Linked DNA regions of Homo sapiens: regions 1, 2 and 3 are each linked to region 4. The links are contacts of gene promoters, found by promoter capture Hi-C in human tissues and cell types (Jung and others, 2019). All regions are on one chromosome and are shown on one strand. The core of a region is centred on a gene start or on the middle of the fragment in contact, and the rest is flanking DNA. Distances in the headings are between cores, read along the strand shown. Region 1 has its middle 45 kb from the start of SUNO1. Region 2 has its middle 9.4 kb from the start of CEBPG. Region 3 overlaps LOC105372371 (a long non-coding RNA gene). Region 4 holds the start of CHST8 (carbohydrate sulfotransferase 8).

Region 1 (2,700 bases), core at 118-2,617, 330 kb after region 4:
CAGCCAGCTAATATTTGTATTTTTAGTAAAGACGGGGTTTTTATTGGCCAGGCTGGTCTCCAACTCCTGACCTCAGGTGATCCGCCTGCCTCAGCCTCCCAAAGTGCTGGGATTACAGGTATAAACCACTGTGCCTGGTGGCCTCCCTTCTTTACTCCCTATATCTGCTGGTTCCTGCACTCAGAGCTGGAACTGTGCAGAGGGCAAATGTGTCAAAGAAATCCCACACACTCCTGCATCCTCCTAAGGTGTCCCACAGACCTGCCTGGGTTCCTGCTGAGCCAAAAAGTCCATCTGGGGTGCCCACACGTTGACCCCTCTGCCCATCCAGCCAGAGCTCAACAGTGCACATGCTAAGTACTTCTGCACCCAGAAGCACGACCAGGTCACATTTGGAGGCTGGAATGGCAGCCCTTTGGGACTTGACCCTATCTCCCTGCCTTTGCAGCCATCTCTTCTCTCACTCACCCATTCTCTGGCCTTCCCAAGCTACTCACACTCCCGAATGGACCATGCATTCCCACCGACTGTACCCCCATCCTGCAAGGCCTTCTGCACCTGGCAAGCTCTGCCCATTCCCCAGGAGCCCTCACAAGTGTCCCTCCCTCTGTGACTTCTGTCCTGACTCGCCTCCCCTCTGCTGACTTAAGGGCTTTGGAGCACTCACCACCGTATGCTAGTGATTTGCTGCTTCTCCATTGCACGGGGCCCATGAGGCCCTGAGGACAGGAATGGTCTCTGTGTCCTGGGTTTCCCTCCAGGCTGGGGTGGTGTTCTGCATGCAGCCTGCGCTCAATTTGTGCTCGTGGGCACCAAATCAGATGCTCAGAATGGTGGAAAGAACATTCTAGAAAACAGCTACTCTGGTCCATCCACACCCTTCCCAGGAAAAGAAGATATTGATATAAAATCTTTTCCTTTCTCTAAAGAAATATTTGCAAATCTTTTGCCAAAATCTCTGTGAGTGAGCATGTACAATTGCTGCAAACTGCAATGAATGAGCAAAAAGGTTAATTTTCACTCCCCTGTCTGATAACAGGGTTATTGAATCAGACTCCTCAGCAGAGACCCTCAGACCACCGGGCTGAGCCCCTCAGCTTTTTTTTTTTTTTTTTAAATGGGAAAACCACACGTTTAAGGACCATCCTTCTTTTCACCAATGAGAAATCTTGAGCCTCTTCCTAGTCTTGTTTCACTAAAACACTTTATTTTAATCAAGTACTTGGAGAGAAAGCTGCTGAAACTTATTCAAATGCAACACTTAATTTTAATCAAGTAGTTGGGGAGAAAGCCAATGAAACTATTTCCAGAGTATCCTATACAGATAGGAAAGAAGGTAACATGCTGTTCAGAGGCACTGCTGTTTCTGTGACTGGGTCCGTAGTCTAATACAGCCAAAATATTATTATTTAAAATTAAGATGTTTTTTAAAAAAGACACAAAACATCTAAAGCCTCCATTCCAAAAAGTGGGGATCTCTATTACAAAAGAATACCTCAATCAAAGTTACCTGCTATGCCCTGTCTCTTCTCGAGCAGACAGGCCCCTGGGGGAAGCTGGGGAGAAGGAGATTGTTCCAGAGGCCTGGCTTCCAGAAGCTTCCCCCTCTCTCCATGCAAGCAAACAACACACCACTGGACCAGGCTCCAGCAGCTAAAATAAAACAGCTGTGTTTCTCACTCAACACCCTCTTTTACCAGATGAAGGGCACTGATTCATGGAAAGGAGACAAATATTTCAGGCCATTTTTTCAGACACTGACAAGGAGTAAATTAGGAAATCATGTAAGTACAATGCGCGCGTCATCGCTTCCTATTGATCACATGTAATTTACATCTTACAAAGATGTGAATTCTTGCATTCTCACTCCACAAGGAAAATCTCGATGATTTATTCATTTCAAATGAAAAATAGAAGGTAGATGAGAAGAATGACTTCACAGACTGCATCGTTCTCGGGGCACTGGTGCGAGGCTTTCTCATACACTGCCCGAAGGGCTCCGTGTGCAAGTCCCTCTAATTAACAAGGTGAATCACGCTGCAGCTCTCTAATTAGTGAGCCTGACAAGCCAGCGGAAACAGCCAGGCAGACTGGTATACATCGCTGGCCGACAAAGGCACGGCACATTCCAAGTGAAAAATGCAGATTTCTCCGAAATAACTATAAAAAGTAAGATGGTTGGGGAAAAAAAAGACCCACCTAATTTTAATTCTCATGTTTCATGTGCAGTTCTTATTTGCTCTCATGCGTAACCAGCTCCTTGGTAAGATGAGATTTGCCTACGCTCTTTGAACCACCTTTCCAGGGAAACTATCCTTTAAAACAGATGCATTTTTAATGTTATTTTATTGTGGTAAGAACACTCAACATGAGATCTACCCTCTTAACACATTTTTTAAGTGGACAATACAGGATTTTTTACTACAGAGCTCTAGAGCTTATTCATCTTGCTTAACTAAAACTTTGCGCTGCTCATGCCTGTAATCCCAGCATTTTGGGAGGCTGAGGCAGGAGGATCGCCTGAGGCCAGGAGTTCGAGACCAGCCTCGGTAAGATAGCAAGACCACGTCTCTACAAAAAAATTAAATAAAATAATTAGCTGGGTGTGATTGCATGCACATGTAGTCCCAGTTACTTGGGAGGCTGAGGCAGGAGGATCTCTTGAGCCCAGGAGTTGGAGGCTGCAGGGAGCTATGATTG
Region 2 (2,700 bases), core at 67-2,566, 260 kb before region 4:
TGGGATTAACTTACTACGTGTAAGTAAGAAGTGGATCCGAGTGACGCAAGAAGTGGATTGCAGTGGAGGTCATTGTGTGCCTCCCAGATCCCACATTCAGGTTGGAGGGACCCATTTCCCCAGCTGTGTTTTCTAAAGTCTCATAGGTACATAGCACAGTAATATGTATATACAACAGAGTCTTGCCAAGCACAGGGGCTCATGCCTGTAATCCCCATTTGTGGGGCTTAGGTGGGAGGATCACTTGAGCCTAGGAATTCAGGACCAGCTTGGCAACATATTGAGACCCTGTCTTTACAAAAAATTGAAAAATTAGCCAGGCATGGTGGTCCACAACTGTAGTCCCAGCTACTCAGGAGACTGAAACAGGAGTCTCTCTTAACTCTTCAGCCCAGGAGGTCAAAGCTGTAGTAGCAGGCCATGATGGTGTCACTGCACTCCAGCCTGAGTGACAGAGCAAGACCCTGTCTCTAAAGCACACACACACACACACACACACACACACACACACACACACACAGAGAGAGAGAGAGAAAGAGAGACAATCTTCTCTATAAGAACAAAGTATACACACAGGCCAGGACTGAGACTGGAGTTTGGGGAATGGGAAGGATTTGGATATATGGAATTGGGAGGAAATGGCCCACCAGATGGCATATCAGAATGAGGCGGGCATTTCCAGCTTTTCTTGATCATCCTCCACCTCCCTCTCCCTAGAAGGAAGAATCCTCCTCCTTCCCTCTCCCACTTCCCTCTGCCCTAGACACACTCCGATCTCACAAGCCATTCTGGCTGCTGCGACTTTTAGTTTTATCCGTCGTCTAGCTGAGATTAAACTGGAATGTTCCATTTGCTCTTTTGGCTCTCAAGTAGGCTCAGGGCTTCCCACCTATGGGTGCAGTTGGATCTTTTTCACTGTAACAGAACAAATGCTCTGACCTCCACCACAAAGTGTTTCTGAGGGTGCCCGGCCTTAGTGAGTTCCTGGGCACCCCCCATAATGTACCCAGGCCATTCATATTTAAGGCCCCCAAAGTCTCCTGAGGGCTTCAGTGGAGCCTCTGCTTCAGCTCCTTCTTCTTCTTCTTCACAAAGTTGATACCCCTATGCCAAGGGCACGGATTCCTGATTTTTACAAGAATCACTTCCTAGAGGCATCAAAGTGGTTTCTGCATTCACTCCAGTTCCCACTTGGCTGAAGGCACAGGGGATCGTTCACGGAGGTCGGGGGGAAAGTCACTCTCTTTGTAAGGACTACAAAACAGCACTTGTCTCTCCCCAAATCCCAGTTTCTTCTGCACCTCAGTTCCCCCCCAGAAACCTCTGCAAAGGAAAGACAACAACCCCACCTTCCTCTTCCAGCCAAAACCCCAACATTTATGCAAATAGACTGGCGACTCCACCTGCTAAACCCAAGTCAATATGAATCCCAGTTGAGGCTGACACAGGAACTGATTATTACCGTGGGAATCTAAACGAAAAATAAGATGAAAAAGGAGCAGTCACGGCGGCCTAGGAGTGGACGCAGATTCCTGACGCTAAGCACAGGGATTCTAGGCCACAAGCCCACCTGGCCTGGCTGTGTCTCCTTGGCCCTGTCTCATCTGTTGGGCACCAGCTCCCCCCTGCCCCCTTCTCCAGCCCCTTGGCTTGGTCCTCACAGGACTCCCAGAACTTGGGACAGGGCCTGGCTCAGAGCAGGAATTCAATCAACATCTATTGACTGAGACAGATGAAAGAGAATAGGAGAATGAGTGCCAGGGACAACCATGTCCCTCTGTCTGGGAAGCTTCTCATTTCCTTCTCAGCTCAGTCTTGTGGCTTCCAGGGGTTGACCTGGTGTTTGGACCTTCAGCGGAGGATGGGGCTTCCCCACTAGACCCAAAAATGGTGTCCTGGGCTTCTCCGTCACCCTGCAGTCTCAAAGTGGACCCCTCCACCTCCCCTTCCTTCTTTCTATCCCTCTCTCCTCCTGGAGGAGCTCCTGTAGATCTACTCTCCCTCTCTGCTCCATTTCTCTGCATGATTTGGGTTTGCCTGGCAGAAGCACAGTCACCGCTCGTGGACTGAGGGAGGGAGTGGGGCCTGAGGCTCTTCTGCTGCTTTCTTCTTTACCCATTTGGCTAAAATCTGGCCTGGGTTGTTAATGTTTTAAAACAGTACTGTTTTAGGTTAATGTTAAGACTGCAATGCATCCCAAATACTTAAAAAAATTTCTCAGAACTATTTTATTTTTAATTAATTATTGTAAGAGATAGGGTCTCGGTCTGTTGCCCAGGTTGGAGTGGGATGGCACTATCGCAGCTCACTGTAGCCTCGACCTTCTAGGCTCAAGCCACCCTCCCGCCTCAGTCTTCCAAGTAGCTGGGACCACAGGCACACGCCCATGCTCGGCTAATTTTTAATTTTTTTTTGTAGAGATGGGGCCTCACTATGTTGGCCAGGCTGGTCTCAAACTTGACCTCAAGCAATCCTCCCACCTCAGCCTCCCAAAGTGCTAGGATTACAGGCACTGTGCATGACTCAAAACAACTTAAGATTTATAAAAAATTGAGAAGGAGGTATAGATTTCCCAGTTTCACCTATTACTAACACCTTACATTCATATATTTGTTATAGTTAACGAAGATATATTGATACATTATCATTAATTGAAGTCCATTATTAAATATTGCCCGTACTTCAAATCTGGATTTCCTT
Region 3 (2,700 bases), core at 124-2,623, 380 kb after region 4:
TAAAAGTCATAAATAAAAAGCCACACTCAACTCCATGGCTGGTGAATTTTGATAATACTGTTACCAAAATTTTATTTACAAACTCAGTAACAAACAAATTTTTTTCATTAAAAAATACACATCTGTACAGCATTACTCCCTCTAGTGGATCTAAAAAAATAACCATATTGATAAGAATTTCATCCATCTTTTGGGGAACAATAGTAAAAGAAATTTTCATAATAATCATCATGCTGATCAGTGTTTATTTTAATGGTTAATCTGAATTAATTTTTCTTTTCTGTGTAGTATACTTTTTCTTTCCATACACTCTCCTGTAAAAAAAGGTACTTAACATTTACCAGAATAATTAATTACTCATAAATTAGAAAATGACAGACATTTCAAACATTACTTACAAGGATAAAAATTCAAAAACTATTGAAGGTAGTATTATACTCAACATAAATCGTAAATATTCAATGAGTTTCGCAGTCACTTTAAAGTAATGTGCAACTGAGAGGGTCATTGTAATAGTCTATTCACCCACGAACTGTTTAAAATTGGGTTAGTGATCATTTTTAACCCATTTATGCTGGAGGTTGCAATTTTTTGAATTTTTGCATAAGTGAAAAATCAGACCTTGGCGCTGACCTTGAGCAGTAGGATATAAATAACTCCCACAGGCTTGGTGTTCCAATAGTGGAACACTAGGCATAAAATAATAAGTAATCATTCAAGTTTCATGTCTACTTATTTTATAAAGTAAATTTTCGAATATAATGCAAGTATTCATTAGATCCTCAAATCTCATTTGTTGCTTAGAGGGTTTTTGTGAACATTTTTTCATGCCATCACTGTGTCTTATATTTGGGAGCAGAGAGGTAACATATAAATAAAAAGATGACACGTGTGTGTTGGCTTAACTTTTGAGTTTGTCACAACTCAGTCACAGATGTTGCTACTAGGGAACAGACACCTAAAAAGGGGTAAAAAAAAAAATAATGATGTTCAGTTGAGCTGATCTCTGTAGCCTAATCCAAGTGAAATTTTAATAATTAGACAGCAATCCCTGCTATTAGATGATCTGGGACTGGTTTTACTATCGCAAATAACTGAATGGAGTTTCACGTATCTTTTTAGAATGAAGAATTTGAAATGACAACACCACCTTAGAGGTGTGGGGCTCTTGCAGAAGTGAATTTAGGTAAAAGACTGATGACAAGGTTTCGTTTTGTCTGAGAAGTAACATTTAACGGCAGGCAAAGAGATACATTTCCCACCAAAATCGAATGCCACTACCATCTGCAACCCCACAGAGGCTCAGCTACCTAAAATGGAAATGAAAATATAATGTATGGAAATATTCTCTTAGAAAAACTCCTTAAGGCTTCACATGTATTAATGTATTAGTTTGCAAACATTAAGATCAAAGCCAAAGCAACAAATACATCCTAAAAAGTTTTTCGTCAGATTTTTATTAACGATATACAAGTAGCAGGGCATAAAAAATTAATAGGCCCAAGCGTTGAAATGTCAAACCCAATGATCTCTTCCATGCTCACCTCTTTTGCTTTTTTGTTTCAGTCTTGCTGGCACCGGGTCTTCTTGCCTTGAGCAACTCTACACGGTTAAGAAAAGGAGAAAGAAAGGTTAACAGATGGTTTAAGAGCCCCTCATCTGTTGCAGTAAGTTAAAAAATAGCAAAGGAAGGAGAATAGGATCCAAGGTGTCAAAAACGCAAGGCCTAAATTCATAGACGTGTAATTTCAAGCCTTTGGGCTTACCCAATAAACCGTTAAATATTCAGTTTTAAATAAAATCTACTGTAGGTTTCTTTAAAAAAAAAAACCAATTTGCTTATAATATTGCTAACTCAAGTTTAAAATACAGTTTCTCTTCCTTTTTAAGTCTTTAAAATGCTGTACATTGTCCTTCTACCCTCATTAGCCTCTCTATATAATTCCATGCACCCAAATCTTTTATTTCCAAGAAGCCTAACTAATCTGATGGAGCAGCCACCACAAAGCAGAGATAGAAATGTGGTACTCACTCCTGTAGTCCCAGCACTTTGGGAGGCCGAGGTGGGCGGATCACTTGAGCCCAGGAGTTCGAGACCAGCCTGGCCAACATGGTGAAACCCCATCTCTACTAAAAATACAAAAAAAATTAGCCAGGCATGGTGGCACATGCCTGTAATCTGAGCTACTCGGGGGGCTGAGGCAGGAGAATGGCTTGAACCCGGGAGGCGGAGGTTGCAGTGAGCCATGATCGTACCACTACACTCCAGCCTGGGCGACAGAGCGAGACTCCGTCTCCAAAAAAAAAAAAAGAAAAAAGAAAAAAGAAATGTGCCTAACACACACTTCTCACATATCCCATGGTGCCAAACTTTTAGACCCCAAATCACTTCGACAATGAAATCAAACCTGAATTGCTAACAGTTATTTGCACAACATCTGTCTCAGATATAAGCCAGCAACACAAGGCCGGACATCCTCCTTCCATGCTGTTTAGCATGTGCTGATATAGGAAAGGCCTAAAGAACTATGTGAATGCTGGGTGTGGTGGCTCAGCCTATAATCCCAGCACTTTGGGAGGCCAAGGCAGCTGGATCACTTGAGGTCTGGAGTTCGAGACCAGCCTGGGCAACATGGTGAAACCCCCATCTCTACTAAAAATATAAAAATTAGCCAGGCATGATGGTGCATGCCTATAGTC
Region 4 (2,753 bases), core at 161-2,660:
TTGGAATCATCACACCTGGGCCATTCTCCAGATGCGTGGAGTCCAGCAAAATGGTGGCATTTTTGCATCTCAATTCGCTCATCTGTAATACGGGAGTGATAATGTCTACTCTGTTGCTGCAAGAATTAAAGGAAGACCATGATCTCTTTGTCATGCTTCTATTTATCTTCTTATCTGTCCTGGTCTATTTTTGGATGCTCTGAGCTTACCTGGGGCATTAAGGAGGCCTCATGGCCCTGGGGCTGAGGGGCTCCCTGGCCGTCCCCAGGAGTGGCTCTGCTCTCCGCCTGGTGTCCCCCACTCTGGTCAGTCAAGACCCATGGGCCCAGCTCACTCCCCAATTCCATCACTCACTCTAGGTCAGCTGGTAGGAGTCAGGCCAACCAGCCAGCAGGTACCATTAGAGAGGAGAGAGTAAGGGTCTTTCACTTTATTAAAGGCTTCTCTGCTGTTGTTTGAAAATACTGAGTGTCCCTTCAAGACTAACAGGTGACTGTGTGCACAGTTTCCTCCAGCTCCTGTGAGAAAGCAGTTGCCCCCCTTCCCAAGGCCTGCTTGTCCCCTGCAGGCTGGGGCTGCCTCTTCTTAGGAAGAACAAGGACCCGAATCCAGGGCCCCGTGTTCCTGTCCCTACTCTGTCCCGGTGCTGTGTGGCCGTGGGCCGGTTCCACCCTCCACGCTGTTTTCCCGAGTGTGTATGAAGAGGGTCGGTTGGCCCCGCTCTCAGGCTGGTGACCCGACACAAACTTCCAGGATGAAGTCCTGAAGGGAGCACCTGTTCGCAGGGCACTTTCAGCAGAATCTAGAGCCCCAGGGATTTGAGGATGGATGCGGACACCCGGGCCTGAGGCAGCTCGCGGCCTTGACCGAATTCCACGCGAGCTGAAGCCCAGGGATATCCCAGAATCTTCCTCAGGATCAATCTTCCGCCTTTCACCGGCCCTGCGCCCCCGCAGCATCGGGTCCTGGGCGCGCGCCCCTGCCCCGCTGTGGTCAAGGCCCGCCCCGGTGACGCCTGGTCCTTTTCCCGGGTTGGCGCCGCGTGCGACCCACCGAGGCAGTGGCAGCACTGGCCGCGGTCTGGAGCCTAGCGTCAGGCCGGAGTCCGGCTCTCCTGAACCGGGAGACCGGCGCAGCCCCAGCCACGACCGCTCCCACCCCCGCGGCCGCCGGACCGCGCCCAGCAGCGACTCTTTCTGAGAGCGCTGCCAGAGGGGCCGCGGGAGCCGCAGAGCGCGCGTGGGCGCGGCGCCCGCGAGCCCCCGGGAGGGCCGAGTGCATCGCTGGAGCGATCCCCGCCCGGCCCGGCCACCGCCGTAGCCGCCACCACGGCGGGGCGGGGCACGGGCCGGGGGCGGGGCGCCGGGCGGGCGCGGCGCTATTTCCAGCCTCGCCGGAGGCTTCGCTCTCACTTCGCTGGGAGCCTTCCCGGCGCGCAAGCCGGATCCGGCAGTGCTGCGGGGAGGAGAGAGGACGAGGCGGCGGCGGCAGCAGGAGGTGGGGGACCGATCGCGCCGGGGGCCGAAGAGGAACGCCGCCCCGCGCCCTCTCGCTCCCCGCACGCTCCGGCTGCCGGCCCCACGCTGCTCGCCCACAGATCGCACTGGGTTCCGCTTGGAGCGGGCGGAGGCACCGGGCCCGAGCTGGGTCGGAGGTCCTCTCCGCCGCCTGCGCGCCCCAAGCAGAGGATCCGCCGCGGAGAACCGCTCCCGGACTGGAGGCGCCCGCGGCCTCGGGTGCGTCCGCTGCGCCAGGTAAGTGGCTGCGCCCCTGCCCCACCCCTGTTCCCGCCCTGCGCAGGCTCCTGGCCTGCAGAGACGCCAGGAAGGGGTCCCGAGCGGGCCCCGGACTGCACCGCTCGCCATCCCCGCCACCGCACGCGAATGGGAGTCCGAAGCTGCGGGCGGAGGTGGGCGCGCGGGGCTCGGGTCTGGTTGCACTTTGGGGACCGGCCCCGGTAGCGGGAACTTTAATTAGACTTTCTCTCCTTGGATCTCACTCGCTGCCGCGCTTCTGGGAACTGCCGTCCCTCGGGCCCTCTTGGTCCCTGCGGACTCCCGCTCCGCCTCCTGGCCCTCGGTGCTGCCCGCGGGGAGGCGGCGTCGGGCGCTGAGCAGCGAGCGCCGAGGGCCAGGCAGGAGCGCTCGGGGCGCTGGGGCTTCCTGGCGCGCTCGGAGCCGGGGCTCCGGACGGGTTGCGGCGGGCAGAGACTATGGGGGAAGTTTAAGTGGCCTTGGCTTCCTACCCAGCGGCTCCGTCGCGCGCGTCCCCGACCCGCAACTCTCCAGGGCACCGGCCTGTGAGTGCTGGAGGCGAGTGTGCGTGCGTCAGCGATGGTGTGAAGGTGTGTGCGTGCGTGTGTCGGGAGTGCGGGAGTCGGAGCCTGGGGCGGCTCCAGGGGGCGGGGAAATGATCCGTTTGGCCGCGGGACCGAGCCGAGCTCTGACGGCGGCTGCAACTCCGGCTACCGACTCTGCAGACCCGCTCTGGCCTCGCTGGAGGCCAGCCGGGCCAGGAGGGCGATCACGGGTTTTGGCAGTGCCCGATGCTGGGGCTTGGGTCTGATGTGACCCCGATTCCTTCTCCAGTGCGGGACTCCCGCCGCCCTAACTTTCGCGTACATCTTGTCTCCAGGCCCGCGACCCCGACCCGGAGTTGAAGCGGCTGCGGCGCCCTCGGCTGTGGGCGCTGCTGCCCGGCTGTCTGTTTTAACCCAGAAGTAGGCGCCGATCCTGGGGCTCTCTGTCCTGCAG

The links. Contacts are between HindIII fragments. The study calls those that stand out against the background at their distance.
Region 1: a contact is called between a fragment that was not itself captured here and the fragment with the promoter of CHST8 in region 4, in 2 of the 25 tissues and cell types used here (dorsolateral prefrontal cortex and spleen).
Region 2: a contact is called between a fragment that was not itself captured here and the fragment with the promoter of CHST8 in region 4, in 2 of the 25 tissues and cell types used here (dorsolateral prefrontal cortex and mesendoderm cells).
Region 3: a contact is called between a fragment that was not itself captured here and the fragment with the promoter of CHST8 in region 4, in 5 of the 25 tissues and cell types used here (IMR-90 fibroblasts, dorsolateral prefrontal cortex, lymphoblastoid cells and 2 more).

Annotation. Positions count from the first base shown.
Region 1 is chr19:33,948,575-33,951,274 of GRCh38, forward strand. No RefSeq gene overlaps it. Among named protein-coding and RNA genes, the nearest start is that of SUNO1, 45 kb to the left of the region's middle. The HindIII fragment of the contact is 5,935 bases long and covers 1-2,700 here.
Region 2 is chr19:33,362,991-33,365,690 of GRCh38, forward strand. No RefSeq gene overlaps it. Among named protein-coding and RNA genes, the nearest start is that of CEBPG, 9.4 kb to the right of the region's middle. The HindIII fragment of the contact is 9,696 bases long and covers 1-2,700 here.
Region 3 is chr19:33,998,797-34,001,496 of GRCh38, forward strand. It overlaps LOC105372371 (a long non-coding RNA gene), which reads right to left. Exons shown (of 3, transcript XR_935921.3): 3 at 1,442-1,602. Among named protein-coding and RNA genes, the nearest start is that of SUNO1, 95 kb to the left of the region's middle. The HindIII fragment of the contact is 5,642 bases long and covers 1-2,700 here.
Region 4 is chr19:33,620,543-33,623,295 of GRCh38, forward strand. CHST8 (carbohydrate sulfotransferase 8) reads left to right here and starts at 1,411. Exons shown (of 5, transcript NM_001127895.2): 1 at 1,411-1,754. RefSeq lists an enhancer at 372-1,116. The HindIII fragment of the contact is 24,734 bases long and covers 1-2,753 here.